5 separate regions of the Homo sapiens genome follow, and regions 1, 2, 3 and 4 are each linked to region 5. The links are contacts of gene promoters, found by promoter capture Hi-C in blood cells and fetal thymus (Javierre and others, 2016). All regions are on one chromosome and are shown on one strand. The core of a region is centred on a gene start or on the middle of the fragment in contact, and the rest is flanking DNA. Distances in the headings are between cores, read along the strand shown. Region 1 has its middle 23 kb from the start of LYPD3. Region 2 has its middle 12 kb from the start of ZNF283. Region 3 overlaps LYPD3 (LY6/PLAUR domain containing 3). Region 4 has its middle 2.5 kb from the start of TEX101. Region 5 holds the start of CADM4 (cell adhesion molecule 4).

Evidence for each region. The method cuts DNA at HindIII sites, captures the fragments that hold promoters and counts their contacts. A CHiCAGO score of 5 or more calls a contact.
Region 1: a contact is called between a fragment that was not itself captured here and the fragment with the promoter of CADM4 in region 5, in 11 of 17 cell types (total B cells, activated CD4 T cells, non-activated CD4 T cells and 8 more). The highest score is 9.6, in total B cells.
Region 2: a fragment that was not itself captured here is called in contact with the fragment with the promoter of CADM4 in region 5 in 1 of 17 cell types (M1 macrophages); the score reaches 5.2 in M1 macrophages.
Region 3: a contact is called between a fragment that was not itself captured here and the fragment with the promoter of CADM4 in region 5, in 3 of 17 cell types (fetal thymus, activated CD4 T cells and naive B cells). The highest score is 7.3, in fetal thymus.
Region 4: a contact is called between a fragment that was not itself captured here and the fragment with the promoter of CADM4 in region 5, in 1 of 17 cell types (total CD8 T cells). The highest score is 5.0, in total CD8 T cells.

Annotation. Positions count from the first base shown.
Region 1 is chr19:43,441,154-43,443,853 of GRCh38, forward strand. No RefSeq gene overlaps it. Among named protein-coding and RNA genes, the nearest start is that of LYPD3, 23 kb to the right of the region's middle. The HindIII fragment of the contact is 6,258 bases long and covers 1-2,700 here.
Region 2 is chr19:43,814,430-43,817,165 of GRCh38, forward strand. It overlaps a transcript of LYPD5 not described here. Among named protein-coding and RNA genes, the nearest start is that of ZNF283, 12 kb to the right of the region's middle. The HindIII fragment of the contact is 4,808 bases long and covers 1-2,736 here.
Region 3 is chr19:43,460,640-43,463,339 of GRCh38, forward strand. It overlaps LYPD3 (LY6/PLAUR domain containing 3), which reads right to left. Exons shown (of 5, transcript NM_014400.3): 4 at 2,487-2,648; 5 at 148-1,208. The coding sequence ends at 712. Among named protein-coding and RNA genes, the nearest start is that of LYPD3, 3.6 kb to the right of the region's middle. RefSeq lists enhancers at 2,498-2,557, 2,588-2,637. The HindIII fragment of the contact is 1,815 bases long and covers 385-2,199 here.
Region 4 is chr19:43,411,081-43,413,780 of GRCh38, forward strand. It overlaps a transcript of TEX101 not described here. Among named protein-coding and RNA genes, the nearest start is that of TEX101, 2.5 kb to the right of the region's middle. RefSeq lists a silencer at 2,011-2,197. The HindIII fragment of the contact is 751 bases long and covers 909-1,659 here.
Region 5 is chr19:43,638,517-43,641,216 of GRCh38, forward strand. CADM4 (cell adhesion molecule 4) reads right to left here and starts at 1,334. Exons shown (of 9, transcript NM_145296.2): 1 at 1,211-1,334. The coding sequence starts at 1,274. RefSeq lists a silencer at 1,218-1,357. The HindIII fragment of the contact is 9,580 bases long and covers 1-2,700 here.

The sequences.
Region 1 (2,700 bases), core at 33-2,532, 200 kb before region 5:
AACGCAAGTACTCCACCCACCTCAGCCTCCCAAAGTGCTGAGATTACAGGCGTGAGCCACCGTGTCCAGCCATTTTTTTTTTTAAGGCAGGGTCTTGCTCTATCGCCCAGGCTGGAGTATAGTGGCACAATCATGGCTCACTGCAGCCTCAACCTCCTGGGCTCAAGCTATTCTCCTGTCTTAGCCTCCCACGTAGCTGAGACTACAGGCACAGGCCACTCCTAGCTTGGAGTGTGGATTTTATTGTGATTAAATTAGTTGTCAACCTAGATAACAAACAGCGAGAGGCTCTCTAAAAGAAACAAAAATTGGTTGGGCGAGGTGGCTCACGTCTGTAATCCTAGCACTTTGGGAGGCCGAGGCGGGTGGATCACTTGAGGTCAGGAGTTCGAGACGAACCTGACCAACATGGCAAAGCCTCATCTCTACTAAAAATACAAAAATTAGCCAGGCATCATGGCAGGTGCATGTAATCCCAGCTGCTAGGGAGGCCAAGGCAGGAGAATCAGTTGAACCCGGGGGGTGGAGGTTGCAGTGAGCCAAGTTCATGCCACTGCACTCCAGCATGGGCGAAAGAGTGAAACTACATCTCAAAAAAAAAAAAAAAGTTTATTCAAGAACAGAGAATTGCAATGGGAATAGGAGTGTTATACATATTCAAGGAGGTCAAAGAAGACAAAGGTTTTTAAAGAAAAAAAATGAGGAGAATTACATAATGGTTTTGAAATAATCATCTTTGGCTAGAAAAATGAATCACAAAGATGATGCCAGTCTGGGGTTGGACAGGCAGTTGCTGGGCAAACGTCCTTGCAGAAGTATTTTTCTGTGTAAGTTTGCAATGGTCTTTGTGTGAGATTGTGTTTTTTGCAGTTTTTTTGTGATAGTTTTTGTGATCAGTCATACAAGTATGAGAACCCTCTCTCCATGGCTTTCCTTCACTCTGTTGGTCGGAGCTTTTTTTTCTTTTTCTTTTTTTTAACATGAGTGACTCCATTTTGATTCTGATAACCTTCAAAAGTTCATATGTGCCTGGGTCATGGGGACTGCTTAGTAAATGCTAGCTTTCACTTTACTATTGGAATTTTTACCTCCAAAATGCAGCATCTCCCCATTCCAAGGTCCTAAGTAGAATGGAAGAGGAGATGCCAGGGAATCTTGACAAGGGAAACTTTCACGGTTGACTCTACATTTGAATTTCTATAGCAGGATTAAGTCTGTGTATTATTTACGTGATTTAAAAAGGCCGAGTGTGGTGGCTCACGCCTGTAATTCCAGGACTTTGGGAGGCTGAGGCAGGTGGATCACCTGAGGTCAGGAATTTGAGACCAGCCTGGTCAACATATAATGAAACCCCATCTCTACTACGAATATAAAAATTAGCCAGGCATGGTGGCATACACCTGTAATCCCAGCTACTCAGGAGGCTGAGGCAAGAGAATTGTTTGAACCTGGGAGGCAGAGGTTGCAGTGAGCCAAGATGGCACCACTGCACTCCAGCCTGGTGACAGAGCGAGACTCTGTCTCAAAAAAAAAAAAAAAAAATCTAAAAATTAGCTAGGCATGGTGGTGCACACTTGTGGTCCCAGCTACTTGGAAAACTAAGGCAGAAGGATCGCCTAAGCCTAGGAGGTCAAGGCTGCCATGAGCTGCGATCACACCACTGCACCCCAGGCTGGGTGACAGAGCAAGACCCCCTCTCACAAAAAAATTTTTAAAAAGATAATGTTAAATATATGTTAGTAGATAAATGTTCACAAAAATCATTAGTGTTGAAGGAAGTGAGGAAAAGATTAAAGGGTGTATTAGTCCATTCTCACACTGCTATAAAGATACTACCTGCTATAAAGATACTGGCCAGACAAGGTGGCTCATGCCTGTAATCCCTACTCTTTGGGAGGCTGAGGTGGGTAGATCACCCGATGTCAGGAGTTCAAGACCAGCCTGGCTAACATGATGAAAACCCGTCTCTACTAAAAATACAAAAAAAAAAAAAAAGTCAGGCATGGTGGCAGGCACCTGTAATCAGCTACTCAGGAGGCTGAGGCAGGAGAATCACTTGAATCCAGGAGACAGAGGTTGTGAGCCGAGATCGCACTACTGCACTCCAGCCTGGGCAACAAGAGGGAAACTCTGTCTCAAAAAAAAAGATACTACCTGAGACTGGGTAATTTATAAACAAAAGAGGTTTAATTGACCTGCAGTTCCACATTGCTGAGGAAGCCTCAGGAAACTTACACTCATGGCGGAAGGGGAAGGGGAAGCAAGCACCTTCTTCACAAGGTGGCAGGAGAGACAGTGCAGGGGAAACGGCCACTTATAAACCATCAGATCTCATGAGAACTGCATGGGGGAACCACCCCCAAGATCGAATCACCTCCCACCAGGTCCCTCCCTCCACATGTGGGGATTACAATTTGAGATGAGGTTTTGGGGGGACACAGAGCCAAACCATATCACCAGGGTTAAGATTTATAAATTGCTCTGTGAACCCCGAAAATCTGAGACAGGTCTCAGTTAATTCAGAAAGTTAATTAGGAGACCAAGGTTGAGAATGCACGCACATGACACAGCCTCAGGAGGTCCTGATGACACGTGCCCAAGGTGGTAGGGGCACAGCTTGGTTTTATACCTTTTAGGAAGACATGAGACATCAATCAGTAGGTGTAAGATGTACATTGGTTCAGTCCAGAAAGGTGGGAC
Region 2 (2,736 bases), core at 106-2,605, 180 kb after region 5:
GCTGCAGTGTGCTATGATCCTGCCACTGCACTCCAGCCTGGGTAACAGAGAAAGACCTGTCTCTAAAACAAACAAACAAACAAATGAAGTGAAGATCTCCAATCACAGCTCTGTACACCAGGATTTACCTTCACCACTGCCTGTAGGACCCACCTCTGAGTAGTGGTCCCGTAATATGATAATTTAGGTTCAGCTTCCAAAATACATCAGTCACACTGATCCATCTGTGAGCCAGACCTTTTCTTCCTTAATATTCTACAGGAAAATCTTCATATGATGTCATGAATGTGAATTAAAGGAACAACATAGCTGCAACCAAGGTCAGTGACATGAGAGTCTGAGCTGTCTGTGTGTGTAACTCTTTTGTGCCATCTAGATCTCTTACAATGAATTAATACTGTGCCCAAATCGCACTATGACTTAGTGGGTTAGATACCCAACTCATGACAGGTAGTTTTAGTCATATAGATACTTGATGTCCCATGGTCAAAATCACAGACTCTATTAGTACTCAGCAGCTGGTTTTCAAATTGAAAGCACTTATATGCTGCATAATAAATGGACTTACTTCAGAACCTTACGGGCTGTAATTTTGCTTTTGTATCTTGCCAGAGACTCCACATAACAGCTTCAACCATTATGGATAGAGGTGACACCATCAAAGTTGCTGATTCATGTGGCTCAGGGACAGGGAGATTGCATCGCAGGCTTTACCTGCTGTAGAGCTCTCACCTGCTTTGAAACTCAGCAGCCTTCAAGTTTATCTGAAAAATGAGTCAGAACAAAATTCCAGGCCAGTCATGATGGGTCACGCCTGTAATCTCAGCACTTTGGGAGGCCGAAAGTGGGGGGATTGTTTGAGGCCAGGAGTTTGAGGCCAGCCTGGGCAATATAGTGAGAACCTATTTCTAAAAAAAAAAAGAAAGAAAGAAAAAGGAGTTTGAGACCAGCATGGGCAACACACGGAGACCCCGTCTCCACAAAAAATTTAAAAACTAGCTGTGCACGGTGGCATGTGCCTGTAGTCCCAGTTACTCGGGAGGCTGAGGTGGGAGGATCTACTTGAGCCAGGGAGGTCAAGGCTGCAGTGAGCTGTGATCATGCCACTGCACTCCAGCCTGGGCAATAGAGCAAGACTCTGTCTAAAACAAAAACAAAACCAAAAACCAGCTATAAAAGACACCTAGAACTATTAAAAAAAGAGAAAAAAAGAACACTATTCTGAAGTGTGATTTATATATGTATCATATAAATCATATATGTTATATATAAACACACATCTATATATACCCATCTATTATTTTTATTTTATTTTATTTTATTTTTGAGACGGAGTTTCACTTTGTCACCCTGGCTGGAGTGCAGTGGCGCGATCTCAGCTCACTGCAACCTCTGCTTCCCGACTTCAAGCGATTCCCCTGCCTCAGCCTCCTGAGTAGCTGGGACTACAGGTGTGCACCACCATGCCTAATTTTTGTATTTTTAGTAGAGATGGAGTTTCACCATGTTGGCCAGGCTGGTCTCGAACTCCTAACCTCAAGCGATTCACCCGCCTTGGCCTCCCAAACTGCTGGGATTCCAGGTGTGAGCCACCACGCCCCACTCTATCTATCTATCTATCTATCTATCTATCTATCTATCTATCTATCTACCTATCATGTATCTATCACTTTCAAATGTCAAAGAGCCCTACCAAATTATGTGCCTGTTTATCAGTTTAGGAAGTGTGAGTTGTAATAACTTATTCTTTACCTTAAGGGAGATACTATGGCATGTCCCAGATGATTGGACTTCTAAAATCTTCACTGATGTGGTAAGTTAGTGAACATTCATGAGGTTTATCTCCCTCTTTCTGTCACTCATTTGCATTACTATGGCTTCTACAGTGATTGCCACTTCCTGATCACCAGGTCAAATTAGCATGATTTTATTGGTGGAATGAACCAGTGCTATGTTCTTCAGAATGTAAAGATGATCAAGGCCTCTGTGGACTACAATATGACGGAGATTAGGAGGGTTATCAGGAACCTGGGGCAAGACAGTGCTGCAGTCCTTACCATGCACACATGAATGGCTTTTAATTCTCCTAAATGTCAGAGATCAAGTAAAATACATTTGTCAGATCATTAAGCACATACTAAGGACCAAAAACTAGGTTGGTCAACTCCAGTAAAGATGTCACATCTGACATAGCAGCTGAAATTGGAGCTGCTATTTGTTTACATTTAAAGTAGTCACTATGAATTAGCTTTGGCCACATAATAAGTGATACGGTTTGGCTGTGTCCCCACCCAAATCTCATCTTGAATTGTAGCTCCCATAATTCCCACATGTTGTGGGAGGAACCCGGTGAGAGATAACTGAATCATGGGGGTGGTTTCCCCCATACCGTTCTCATGATAGTGAATAAGTATTATCAGAGCTGATGGTTTTATAAGGGGAAACCCTTTTTGCTTGGCTCTCATTCTCTTTGCTGGCTGCCATGTAAGATGTCTCTTTGTTCTCTTTTGCTCTTCTGCTATGATTGTGAGGCCTCCCCAGGCATGTGTAACTATGAGTCCATTAAACCTGTTTTTCTTTATCAGTTACCCAGTCTTGGGTATGTCTTTATCAGCAGCATGAAAACAGACGAAAACAATCAGTAACCCCAAAACTCAGAGGCTTGAAATTACGAATATTATTTCTCACAATTCTGGGGGCTTTCTGAGCATTTCTTTTGCTCTGGGCTGGTTTGGC
Region 3 (2,700 bases), core at 42-2,541, 180 kb before region 5:
ACCCAGGAGATTAAAGTTCAACCGTGACTTCCCCCAGGACTGCGGCTCTAGGTCCCATATCTCTCCCGTTAAAGGCTTTATGATGCCCACCCTAGCTCAGCTAGAGCGGTTATTGCGAGAAACAAGGTGGAAGTGACTCCTTTAAAGCACTATACAAAGTAATTAAATCTTTATTGAGGCATTTATGTGCCAGAAACTGATCACACACAGACATAAGGCACGGTCCCTGCCCTCGAGGAGCTCACAGTCTAGTAAGGAAGACATATGGGGAACCGATTCCCCAAAGATGCGGGGAGTAGGGGAGGCAGTGCTTAGAGTGGGGAGCCATTGTCCCACCCACCCCACGCTCCAAAGTCCAGGCTGGCTAGGAGAAAGTGAGTAGGAAGCTTAGCATCCTCTCTCTCACCTTCCCCGTGACAGCTGACTTCTCTCACTCTGTCCTAACATCACAAGAGGACAAGCGGAGAGACAAGGATGAGAAGGATACAGGAGCTGTCCTCAAAAAGCTAGAACACCCCTGGCAGAATATATACAACGGTATTTTATTTCCCAAAGCCGCAAACCAGCGCAGCAGAAGCTGGGGATACTGGGGAATGTTGGAAAAACAGGGGCTGGGCCAGCCCAGTCCAGTGGTGGGAACAGGAAGTGATGAGAAGAGGGGTACCCAGGGCCAGAGAAGTAGGTGAGAGGGAAATTTCCAGGTGGAGAAGCTCACAGTAGGACACCAGCAGCCACGGCCAACAGAAGGGCTGCCAATCCAGCTGTGGGAGCCACACAGCCTTTATTATGGGGCTGCTGGGGCCCCCCTTTTGCAGGATACTGCCCTGAATTGCTGCGGTCCTGGTGGCCAGCGGCGCCTCCAGTCAACCTGGGCTCCTCATCCCGGGAGGCCTCGTGTTCTACTCCCTGTCTCGGAGTCTGACTGGTTGGCGCTGGCATGGGTTTGGTGGTGGATGTGGGTCTCACTGGGGCCGAGGTAGAAGTGGTGACAGATGTGGTTGAGGCCACAGTCGTGGGCTCTGGAGGGGGCAGCCGGACAAGGGGTGGGATTCGAGGGGAGAAGTAGGTCTTGTTGCGGAGGTCAGAGTTACAGCGGGACCCCTGGCAACAGGAGCCACTGAGCGTGAACCCTGGGCCTGTTACTCCATCCCGAGTGCAGAATTCATCCTGGACACAGCCCCGGACAGGCAAGGACACAGTCACATTAGCTGCAGGAAGGAGACACAGATAGGTCAGTGGCTGGAGGGAGAGAGGTTGACATGGCCAGAACAAAACTTAGAGGCATCAGACAAGAACAGAGAACCTGACCGGGCGTGGTGGCTCACGCCTGTAATCCCAGCACTTTGGGAAGCCGAGGCAGGTGGATCACTGGGCAACAGAGTGAGACTCTGTCTTGCAAAAAAAAAAAAGAACAGAGAACCCCCAAAATGAGACAGAAAGTCTCTGCATCCATTAATCCCAAAATCTCAACTCAGGTCCTACTATGAGAAACAGACAGACTCACTGTCTTTGGCACATGGTGGATTAACATTTTCCATTGTGCTTTGAATGGAAATGTGTGTAGGCTGAACCAAAAGTAGGGTTTAAAACAAAGGCTTAGACTGAGATACAAGACCTCTCACAAGACCACAGTGCAGAACAAACTTCCTCTACAACCCTCTCACCATTATCCCCTTAGCCTTCACCCTGGCTTTTACCTCCCCATCAGAATTTACTCTTAGAGTCAGAGTTACATCTCCACACCAGGCTCAGTGGTTCACGGCTGTAATCCCAGCACTCTGGGAGACCTAGGCAGGGGGATCTCTTAGCCCAAGAGTTCAATACCAGCCTGGGTAACATGGCAAGACCCCACTGTTACCAAAAATAAAAGGAACCAGTCGTGGCGGTGCACCCTGTAGTCCCAGCTACTTGGGAGGCTGAGGCGGGAGGACTGCTTGAGCCCAAGAGGTAGAGGCTGCAGTGAGCTATGATTGCGCCACTACACTCCAGGCTAGGCGATAGAGCAAGATGCTGTCTTTAAAAAAAAATAGTAATAATAAAATAAAAAAGAACTACATCTTCCATAGCATAACTGGCAGGGGATGGGATTTGAAGAACTTCATTTTCCATGGTTACATTTCTCAATAGTCTGGGACAGGCGGGGGACCCCTTGAGTTTTAAGGGCTAAGAACTAGAGATTCCCCGCAGTGCCTGGGCAGAAGCTTAGAGGCTTAAATACCTCTTAAGTACCTGGCAGCCCTCTATGGAAATGCATTTCCCTCCAAAACACTCTGGGACAAAGCATCACTATCCCCACACTATTAATATGTTGGGGGAAGGGACTGCATTTTCCATGATGCCCTACGATACAAGCACCTAGGCCCCACGATTCCCAGAATGCGTCGCAGGTTAAGGAAACGCTTTGGGTAAAGGGCTCCCTACCGCCCAGGGTGCTTCAGAAGGGCTACCACAACTCCCGTAGGTCCCGTGCTCCGGGGCTCCCTCACCTGCCGTCAAGGTGACGTTGCCGTCGAAGCAGCCCTTGTAGACATGATCGCTGGCGTTGTAGCAGCTCACGACCGGCGGCGATGTACCCTGGCACGCCTCCCGGCTCAGGCCCACACAGCTGTAGCACTCCACGCCGTTGGGCGGGTATGCACTCTCATTACCTGCGAGGGGAGCCGAGAGGAAGAAAAGGTGTCGAAAGGGTTCGGGAACCGC
Region 4 (2,700 bases), core at 34-2,533, 230 kb before region 5:
GTTTTGGTTTTTTTGAAACAGAGTCTTGCTCTGTCACCCAGGCTGCAGTGCAGTAGCACAATCTTGACTCACTGCAGCCTCCACCTCCCAGGTTCAAATGATTCTCTCGCTGCAGCATCCAGAGTAGCTGGGATTACAGGGGCGCACCACCACGCCCAGCTAATTTTTTCATTTTTAGTGGAGACAGGGTTTCACCATGTTGGCCAGGCTGGTCTCGAACTCCTGATCTCAGGTGATCCACCACCTCGGCCTCCCAAAGTGCTGGGATTACAGGCCTGAGCCACCGTGCCTGGCCCATTAGAAAGTTTTAAACAGGAGTAATGTGGTGTGGCTTGCAATTAAGAGATCGCTCTGGTGCCAGGTGGGAAATAGCCACATGGGCAAGGGCAGGGCGTACTGCAATAATCCAGTGACCAATGGTGGTGTCACAAGTGCTTATATAAAAAGATGCCTTCACTGTATATTAGCCATTGAGCTTTTTTCTTTTTTACAAACGTTCCATGGATTCATAAACTATTTGCCAACCATTGCTCTAGACTAACCTCCTCATTTTCTTTTTTTTCTTTTTTTTCTTTTTTTTTGAGACCAAGACCAAGTTTTGCTCTTGTTGCCCAGGCTGGAGTGCAATGGTGCAGTCTCAGCTCACTGCAACCTCCGCCTCCCAGGTTCAAGTGATTCTCCTGCCTCAGCCTCCCAAGTAGCTGGGATTACAGGCGCGTGCCACCAGGCCTGGCTAATTTTTGTATTTTTAGCAGAGACAGGGTTTCACCGTGTTGGTGAAGGTCAGGCTGGTCTCAAACTCCTGACCTCAGGTGAACCACCCACCTTGGCCTCCCAAAGTGCTGGGATTATGGGCTTGAGCCACTGCACCCAGCCTAACCTCTTCATTTTCTAGATGAGGACACTGAAGCTTGGAGAGGAACAGAAATTGGCTCAGGCTAAGGAAGATCTGTCAATCTCTCTTGCACCAAAAAGGCAAAGCCACCTTTCTCAAGGGGCTGTGTATTGGGGTGTTCTTGCACTGCTATAAAGAAATACCTGAGACTAGAAGTAATTTATAAGAAAAGAGGTTTGATTGGCTCAAGGTTCTGCAGCTGTACAGGAAGCGTGGTGCCAGCATCTCCTTCTGGGGAGGCCTCAGAGAGCTTTTACTTATGGCAAAAGGATGCAGGCCAGAGAAGGGGAGCGAGAGAGAGTAAGAAGGGGAGGTGCCACACACTTAAACAACCAGATCTGGCAAGGACTCACTCATCATTGCAAGGACAGCACCAAGTCATGAAGGATCTGCCCCCATAACCCAAACACCTTCCACCAGGTCGCATCTCCAACACTGGGAATTACATTTCAACATGAGATTTGGGCGGGGGACAAATATCCAAACTATGTCACGGAGCAAGAGGAGGTCCCTGGAGCTGTTGAAGCAGAAATGGGGTGAAGAATAGAGGTGGAGGGTGCTTAGGCTTCCAAGGTCTCTTCTAGGTGTGAGATGGAGGGATTCTGCGACCAAGTCACCTGGAGAGTGACTCAACAAGGTGACTGCTTTCCCAAGCACGAGCCCTCGGGGGACAGACGGGGGCTGAAAACTGGCACACATTCTTCCTGGATCCTTTGACATGTGATCATTCAAAGATAACAGTTCAAAGATAACAAAGGGATTGAAGCTTTACCAATCCCTTTCTTATTGTGGCATTTTCTCTATTAAAAATAAATACTCATTTATACTATAACTTACAGAATCAGTACCAATTCTGAAAGTATACAAAGCGTTGCCTTACTTTAAGGAAGGAGACCACTACTACTCCTGCTGCCCTCCTCCCCCGACCTTGCCTAGTTCACAAGACAGGAGGAAAGAGAGAAAGCAAAAAGTTGGAAAGAAACAGAAGTAAGATAAATAGCCAGTCAACCTTGGCACCACCACCCAGCCCTAGGAGTTAAAAAAAGTAATAATAATAACAGCAACCCCTGACCTAAACTACTTGTGTTATCTGTAAGTTCCAGACATTATATGAAAAAGCATTGCAAAACTTTCTGTTCTGTTACCTGATGCATGTAGCCCCCAGTCACGTTTCCCACGCTTGCTCGATTTATCACGACCCTTTCATGTGGACCCCTCGAAGTTGTAAGCCTTTAAAAAGGCCAAGAATTGGCCAGGCGTGGTGGCTCATGCCTGTAATCCCAGCACTTTGGGGGGCGGGCGGATCACGAGGTCAGGAGATCGAGACCATCCTGGCTAACACAGTGAAACCCCATCTCTACTAAAAATACAAAAAAATTAGCCGGGTGTGGTGGTGGGTGACTGTAGTCCCAGCTACTCGGGAGGCGGAGGCAGGAGAATGGCATGAAGTCGGGAGGCAGAGCTTGCAGTGAGCCGAGATTGCACCACTGCACTCCAGCCTGGGCAACAGAGGGAGACTCCAAAAAAAAAAAAAAAGGCCAAGAATTTATTTTTCAGGGAGCTCGGCTCTTAAGACGCAAGTCTGCTGAGGCTCCCGGCCAAATAAACCTCTTCCTTCTTTAATCCAGTATCTGAGGAGTTTTGTCTGCAGCTCATCCTGCTACAACTTCATGTCACACCTGGAAAGCTTACATAGGCCAGGGGTGGTGGCTCACGTCTGTAATCCCAGTACTCTGGGAGGCCGAGGTGGGCAGATCACCTGAGGTTAGGAGTTCAAGACCAGCCTGGTCAACACGGCGAAACCC
Region 5 (2,700 bases), core at 84-2,583:
TCCACCAGGGAGGGGTGACCCGTGGCAGGTTCAAGACTTACACAGTGTGAGAGTGTGTGTGGGTGACATTTCCTGACCTTGTCCCCATTCTCAGGGTCACCCAACCTCGGGGGTCTCCAGCTTCTCACAGTGTGTGATGAGGGTATGTGGATGGCTCCCTGGATGTCCTGGACAGGGGCTTCTCTGTGAGTCAAGCCTGGGTGTGTGAATGGGTGAGCAGGGTTTGGAGAGGCATTCGCTGAATCCACGTGTGTGCCTACACGCCAAGGTCCCCCATTCTCACTTCCCCACACACATGCACACAGATGTTCCCCTCCAGGGCTCTTTAGAATGCCCTGCCTGACTGAATTCCTCTTCAGGGGCACAGAGGGATAGAGAGAGGGAGGAAGGTAGGATGGGAATGGGAGATCCCGGGATGGAGGCTGTAAGCGTAGAGAGAGGAGGCACAGCAGAAAGACAGGGATGGAGATAGTGGGACAGAGAAGGGGGAAAGAGACAGGTGACAGAAAGGGTTAGAGAAACGAGTGACAGAAAGACAGGGGACAGAGACAAGGGGATGGGGCAGATAGGGGACAGAGAAAAAGGGACAGAAAAACAAGGGTGACAGCGAGACAGAGACAGGGACCAAGAATAGGGGCAGAGAGGGAGGGCAGAAATCCGGGGGAAAGAGAATAGACAGGATGATGGAGGGGACAGAGTGACCCAGGAAAAGGGGACAGAGACCAGGGGACAGAGGTAGGGGACAAAGACAGAATAGATGAGGAACACCGAGGCAAGAAGAGAGGGAGACAGACAGAAGGAGGGACAGGACTTCGAGACTGAGGGATAGAGGACAAGGGTAGGGGGACGAGGAGCCAGACGGGGGGGTTCAGAGACGGGCGGACAGAGGGACGCAGAGACTGGACAGAAGGACAGCGGGACCGGCCTGGGGAGGGCGGACTTGTGTGTGTAGGGGGGTCTCGGGCCCTTTGTCCCCGCCGGGATCCAGCCTGCGCGGGTGGGGGGGCTGCGGCACGGCGGCCGGGCCCCGCGCCCCCTCCCCCGCTCGTCGCTCCCGGCTCCCGGCCCGCGCTGCGCTTTGTCCCGGGGAGGGGGCCCGGCCCGGCCCCGCGCGCATTGTTCGGCCTCTGCGGCCCCGAGGCTGCCGGGCTGTCACCACAGCGCGCCCCCCGCCCCAGCCCGGCCGGCCGACCCCGGCCCCCGACCCTACCTGGCCCCGCCGCGGCCGCCCACAGCAGCAGCAGCGGCCACTGGAAGCGCCGGGCCCGGCCCATGGTGCCGCCGCCGCCGCCGCCGCCGCTCGCTCCCGGCCCGGCACCTGCACCGCCCGCGCCGCCCGCCCCGCCCCCCGCGCCCCGCCCCCTGCCCGCCCGGGGGCGGGGCGCCGAGGCCGGGGCGGGGCCGGGGAGGGGAGGGGGAGACGGAGGAGAGGCCCGGAGACAATCGGGGGGACGGCACGGTGGGGGAACGGTGCGGGGTGCGAAAGCTGGAGAGGAGAGGGGTGAGGAGGGCGGGAAGGGGTGCGCGGGAGGGCGACAGCGGCGTGGGAGCAGGTGGGGGATCTCGGTGAGCGCGGGAAATGGAGGGTGTTGGGTGAGGGTGCTGCGTGCGGGCCCAGGTGCTGCGCGCGAGGGTGCGGAGTTGCTGGCATGCAGGGTGCTTGCGCTGCGCGGAGGGGAGGGTGGCAGGGTGTTGCTGGAGGCTGTGCGAGGGTGGGGGCGCGGGCGTCGTGGGGTGCGGTGTGTGCGAAGGGAGAGCGTGGCCAGCGTGACGGGGGAGCGTAAGGGAGGGAGTGCGACGTGGGAAAGGTGAGTGTGAGAGGCGTGCTGCGGGCAGGTGGGTGTCTGGAGTCTAGCGAGAGGCTGTGAGCTGAGCCACCGGGACAGGGGAGGCTGCAGCTGGAGGTCCGGAGGGTCCGGAGGTCGAGGCAGGTCAAGGATCTCCCAGGGCAGGGCGAGGCTGGGGCTCAGGAGTGGGGTGGGGTCAGTTCCCTCCCTCCCTCTCTCCTGTCCTGACCTGAAAACCCCGTGTTTCCGCGTCATTCTCCGGGAGGGGCCCCCTGAAAGTGAACTAACTGGAAGGAAGCCTGAATCCTGGGTCCCAGGAGGGAGAGGCTCCTGTGAACACCTTCCAAGCCCTGGCGTCCCCTCTCCTCCCTGCTGTCTCCCTGCCCCAGCCTCTCTCCCTCTCTCTGCATGTATTTGCCTCTGCCCTTCCTCTCTCCCCATCTTTGAGGGTGACTCACCCCTCCAGACTTAGGTCCCTTCTCCCTCCTGGGAGTGGGTTTCCCTGAGCCCACTTCTGTGACACCCTGTAGACCTGATGCGGGATCATTACCTATGGGACCCAGAAAGAGTGAGAAACCATGGAAAGAAGGCCTCGACCTCTCTCATGCCCATTTGTCAGGCAAACTGAGGTCCAGAAGTGCCAATTATGAACATCTTTCCTTCCCCCCTCCCCCCTCCCCGCCCAGACGGAGTCTCGCTCTGTTGCCCAGGCTGGAGTGCAGTGGCACGATCTCGACTCACTGCAACCTCTGCCTCCCAGGTTCCAGTGATTCTCCTGCCTCAGCCTCCCGAGTAGCTGAGATTACAGGCGCCCGCCACCATGCCTAGCTAATTTTTATATTTTTAGTAGAGACGGAGTTTTGCCATGCTGGCCAGGCTGGTCTTGAACTCCTTACCTCAGGTGATCCATCTG